Regions from separate parts of the Homo sapiens genome. Here region 2 is linked to region 1. Evidence: promoter capture Hi-C in 16 types of primary human blood cells and fetal thymus (Javierre and others, 2016). All regions are on one chromosome and are shown on one strand. Each heading gives the region's core, a stretch centred on a gene start or on the middle of the fragment in contact. The rest is flanking DNA. Distances are from core to core; before and after follow the strand shown. Region 1 holds the start of DTWD2 (DTW motif tRNA-uridine aminocarboxypropyltransferase 2). Region 2 has its middle 96 kb from the start of MIR5706.

What was found. Contacts are between HindIII fragments. The CHiCAGO score rates a contact against its expected background, and 5 or more counts as called.
Region 2: a contact is called between a fragment that was not itself captured here and the fragment with the promoter of DTWD2 in region 1, in 15 of 17 cell types (naive B cells, non-activated CD4 T cells, fetal thymus and 12 more). The highest score is 10.7, in naive B cells.

The regions. Positions count from the first base shown.
Region 1 is chr5:118,986,969-118,989,938 of GRCh38, forward strand. It overlaps DTWD2 (DTW motif tRNA-uridine aminocarboxypropyltransferase 2), which reads right to left and starts at 1,579. Exons shown (of 6, transcript NM_173666.4): 1 at 1,326-1,579. The coding sequence starts at 1,543. RefSeq lists a silencer at 1,163-1,492. The HindIII fragment of the contact is 4,492 bases long and covers 1-2,420 here.
Region 2 is chr5:119,249,277-119,251,976 of GRCh38, forward strand. No RefSeq gene overlaps it. Among named protein-coding and RNA genes, the nearest start is that of MIR5706, 96 kb to the left of the region's middle. The HindIII fragment of the contact is 941 bases long and covers 883-1,823 here.

The sequences.
Region 1 (2,970 bases), core at 329-2,828:
TAAATTCAGCAAGCCATTTTTTTAAAAAAGCATCATAAAATAAATCTCTGCTAAACAGATTTTTACCTATATATTTATAATTAACAATTCTGAACAGACTAAAAACTAAATAAAACTAGCACAGTAATTTAGCCTTTGATTTATATTTGAAACACTTTTCCTCCAGTATCCTATTGAGACCCCTCCAAACATTTTTAAATGCTTCCCCAACCCCCTCAGACGACTTGTTTAAATTAATTGTATTCACAAACCCCTATGTTCAAATTCACAGTCCCTTCTAATCACAAATTTTCCATCCTCCTCAGAGGTTTACTGAGCGTCAACTATACATAGTACATTTAGAAAATATAAAAACATTCTACATTCAAGATCCTTTCCTCTGAAGTCTTACAATCCAGCCCTAGGAAAAGGTCAAAATGTCCAAAGTGTGATACTCCAAGTATTCAAGCAGTAAAGATCTTCAACCATATTCAGTCCTTCTGTTCCCCTTCTTGGAATGCTTTTCCCCTGGCTGGATTCTTCTCATCTTTCAAATCTCAGAGATAGTTCATGACACCATTGAGCTATTTTCTACAGTAGCAACCCATTCCTTTCCTTCACTGCTTTTTTCCCAGTTTGTAATTACATATTTGATTGCTTGTTTGCTGGTTTATTATCCGTATCCAGTAAGAGAATACTCTACAAAAACATGAACTCCACTGCATTGTCAGTGATTACCAAAGCACTCAATAAACACCTGATAAATTAATGCACAGGTCTGGTGTTCCGAAGAAAGGTCTGAGCTAGACACACTGGGATATAGATGATAATTTACCATGAAAACTGATTTTATAAATTACCAGTGGGACGTATGTAGGGTTTGAAGAGAACCTAGAATGAACACCTGAAAAGGCCCTATATTTAGAGTTCTGGTAGGATAGGTAAAGGAGACTGTCTCTCTCCTCCAATCCACTTTATGCTTTTTAACTGTGATATAACTATGCCACTTAAATATGACTGTGTAACTATTTTACAAGTATTACTGTCATCACCCCTTACTTCCCCTATTGGACGCTTAAGTTTCTTGGAAACAGAACTGATGTCTGCTCATCCCATGATACGCTCAGCATATTGCAGGAAGTAAGGTTAGATAATCATGAACCTGGAAAAAGGGCTTCTTACTAGGTAGCTGTGCCTGGCATTTCCGAGATTTCCAACGTGCACCCGCCAACTCCGCCGCCCTAATCGCAGAGCTGCCCGAGCCGCCGACTCCCCGGCAGGGGGCGCCGCACCCTCCTCCGAAGGCCGCTGCCGGCTGCAGTCCCCGCCCCCAGCCCCGCGGTCACCTGCAGCGGGTGCACTCAGGCCTCCGCTCGGCCGGCTCCACCGGCAGCTCCCACAGCCCGTCCGCACTGTCGTCGTCCGCCTCTGCGCCCAGGGCAGCCGCCGCCGGCACTGCGCCGCCCTCCCGCCGCTCCTTGTCGTTCGGCGTCTGAGAGCTTGAGGCCCCAGAAGGCCGCGCAACGGGCTCCTGGAGTGTTCGTGCCTCTTTCTGCGACTCCATGGCGGACACTCCGGTCAGGCCGTGGCATTGAAGCCCGGCTGCCGCCGGGGGGCGCCACGCGCTGTAGAAACCGGCCCGCGCCGCGTAGCGCAATGCCCGCACGCCACGTACGGGGGGCGGGTCTCCGAAGCCCAGGCTGGAGGTCCCACCCTGCCGCTGGGAAGGAACGAGCCCATTGGTCCGTGCCCAGTGGGACCGTTCACCTAGAACTGGGTAGGCAAGTGTGGGCAGTGTTGGAGTGCTGGTGAGGTTAAGTAGCGTCATTGGGAGAGGTAAGGGAAACCTCCCCGAGAGGACCCCAGTACCAAGCCCGAATTTAACTCCTTTAAAAGTTAAAATAAAATGGAATTCTGCATTTTCCGCCTTGGGATGGCAGTTTAAGAATTTGCAGGATTTCCACGCGTGCATGCATCGCAGGTGCGGCAGCTGATGCACTTATTATTTAAAGGCCAACAAAGGAGAGGTTATATCCACTGGGAACTACTCACAGCTGGTCCGTTTCCTTATGTGAATTTCCTGCTCTTCTATGTCTTGTGCTAATAAGACATCAAGCATGCTATTTTACACTGGACACCAGATATTTGTTAAATTAGATTTTTAGATCGTCCCCGATCAGGAAGCAATAGGAGAGCTGGCCCGGGGTACCAATAGGTTTTATGTATGAGGAAACAAGCCCTAGAAAGGTAACGTTGCCCAGGTATTTAACAACTACTGGATACGGCGGTATATAGCACAGCAGCTGTTTTTTAAAAGCCAAAATGAAATCTATGTTAGAATGAAGGCAGAAATACTATTTACCCAAAATGGGTATCGAATTCCTTTTGTTTATTAATGCTTTGTGTTACTTCCAGCAATACACAACATTAAAACAGAATTAAGCTTGGTTTTGATCAATCATGTGAATTAAGCTTAGGAATCACAGTTGTCTTAACTCTATAGTTGTAATAGATTAAATGTGAGGCAAAGTAGACAACACAGTAATAGAGCAAATACTGTATTTCTTAAAATGTTTATTTCACATTAGATTTTTCAGTCATCTTAAAATCAAGTTTGTGAATAAAATACCGTGCTGTTTTCAACTATCCTACGTTCTTTCCCCCCGGAAACAGCACCTCTCTTTTCCTTTGGAGCGTCCTATGTGAGGGATAGAAAAAGGCTGAAACACCCACCTGGTGATGGACGTAGAGTGGGAGAAAGAACTAGCAATTATGCCATTTGGAATCGGAGGATAAACAAAATCCAGAAACTGTAGGAAAGGAGATGAATCAGAAAATTCATCTTGTCTGTAGATTTAGGTTGGGGAACCAATTCTTTAACTGCCAAAATTAAATTCTCATGTGACTTATCTTTAAACGAAAGGAAGCTGCTCATCTTTAATTTCAAGAGGTGAAATGTGCTCAAGTCCTCTAAGGTCCCTTGAGACTCCC
Region 2 (2,700 bases), core at 103-2,602, 260 kb after region 1:
TCTTTTTAAGTTGATAGGTAAGCAGCATTCAAGGAAGGTGGGAATAAAAATTGTTGAAATGTTTAAATATAAAATGATATACATATATGTAAAATTTCATTATCCACATTAATGGAGTGGATACATCAAAATACATTTTTTAATTGTGTGTTTCCTAAGAATGTGGCTTTGTGATCATATAAGGATTCACAACATTAACAAATCTTATTTTCTGATATCTAGGATTTTTCTTAACTAAAACCATGGACCAGTCATCTCCATCCTCCTTTCTTGCTCTTTGCCCTTGCCCTCCCTTCTTTGAAAAAAAAAATATTTTTTAGAAGAATTGCAGAAATTTCTCACATTGGTCCCAACAATGGAAACACAATACAAAGACACATTCAAAGAAAAGTCTATACAACCTTAGGGTGGAAGTGATCTTTTTAACAAGATTGGAAACACAGACATATTTTACTTAATAAAAAATTTAAATGTCATATGGCAGGGACCACAGTCAAAGTTAAAACAACAAGTAGACTAGAAGAAATATTTGTATAGTAATAGGAAACATGTCAGTGTCCCTGTATACAAAGAGAAGTTTAAGTTATTGGAGAAGTGGTCACACTGTGAATAAGCAATTCACAGAACAGGACATTGAAAAAGTCAACAAATATAAAGTGTGTTCATCTTCATTATAAGGGTTAATGGATTGTTTTTTAAAAAGTATTACTGTAATACTAGTTTTTATCAGATTGGTTTAAGGTTAAATAGTGACAATATCCATTTTGGTGAAGATGCAAGGAAATTGGCAGAAACATTGCTGGCAAAGTTATCTGGGTGTGAATTAAAATCAAATACACATAACTTTCAGTGAACAACCTTCTGAGAAATTATAAAAATAAAAGCTTCCATGCATAAAAATGTAAGGACACAGATGTTTATTGAAACATATTCTAGAGGCCAGATGTGTTGGCTCACACCTGTAATCTCAGCACTTTAGGAGGCTGAAGCAAGCACAGGTCACTTGAGGTCAGGAGTTTGTGGCCAGCCTGGCCAACATGGTGAAACCCATCTCTACTAAAAATACAAAAATTAGTGGAGTATGGGGTTGTGTGCCTGTAGTCCCAGCTACTCAGGAGGCTGAGGCAGGAGAACCACTTGAACCCAGGAGGTGGAGGTTGCAGTGAGCCGAGATCATGCCACTGCACTCCAGCCTGGGTGACAGAGCAAAAGTCTGTCTCAAAAAATAAAAATGAAAAAAAAAAAAAAAAAAAAACTGGAAATCTAAATGTTAATTAGCAAGTAAATGGTTGAATAAATTATGGTACATACATGTAATATTATAGAATATTCTCTCACCACTAAAAAGAATGTTAGATATGTATATGTTGGCCTGAGAAGAGGCTGATGAGGAAAAAAAATTACAGAGCAAAAGATACAATATCCTAATTGTTTAGACTTTTTAAAATATATATGAACAAAGAAATGCATGTGGAAAAAATACACAAAACTTTTAGCATTGGGAAAAGGAAGAAGGCTGTAATATTTTCCCAAACTCCTTTAAACCTCACTCAGTAAAGTAATACCAAAGATAGTTTTGTTGAATGTGTGTACGTGGGAAAAACAGCTTTATTTTTAAACCAAGTAGTACTTCATGACTTTGGGAGCTGCTCTGTTGAATAAAGTGATCTGGTGTCAGGAACACTCCTCTTTGAATTGTTGAGATATTTTTGGTGAAATTTATTTAAGCTGAATGTTAAAATGTTACCCTTTGGAGCAGGAGTCCCCAGCCCATGGGTGACAACTGGTACCGGGTTGCACAGCAGGAGGTGAGTGTTGGGCAAAGCTTCATGTGTATTTATAGCTGCTCCCCATTGCTTGCATTACCACCTGAGCTCCGCCTCCTGTCAGATCAGTGGAGGCATTCGATTCTCATAGGAGCAGGAACCCTACTGTGAACTGCGCATGCAAGGGATCTAGGTTGTGTGCTCATTATGAGAGTGATGCCTGATGATCTGTCACTGTCTCCCATCACCCCCAGATGGGACCATCCAGTTGTAGGAAAACAAGCTCAAGACTCCCACTGATTTTATGTCATGGTGAGTTGTATAATTATTTCATCATATATTACAATGTAATAATAAACTGCACAATACGTGTAATGCGCTTGAATCATCCTGAAACCATCTGGCTCCATGGAATAACTGTCTTCCCACGAAACCAGTCCCTGGTGCCAAAAGGGTTGGGGATTGCTGCATTGGAGTACCTGGAAAAAGTTGATCATAGATTATTTGAATGTGCCTGTTAGTATTCTAGAAATGTGTGTAGATTTCAGTCCAGTTATTTTCAAAGCTGAATCTGTTTTTGAGCTTTTCAAGATGTTTTTTCTTTCTGCTTGGCTGTCATTGCACATATATGGTCCATTACTCAAGGAACTAACACTGAGAGTGTCACATTGTTTCACAGGGGTCCTTGGAACAAAAACACTTTTAAGTTCTTCCACTGCAAATACAGATGACTAATAGAAACAATTGGTGTGACAACACATTTCACTCCACAGTGGAAAAAATGCTTTATTCATGGACAATCAATTTTCTATGCAATGTACAGGTATGACCTGTGTAACAGAACTCAGCCAGTATGGTGTATCCCTGGACATACGTTAAATAAGTTTTAAAAATCCTTTGGAATCTACTCTTAGCATCATTTCTGAAATTGCAG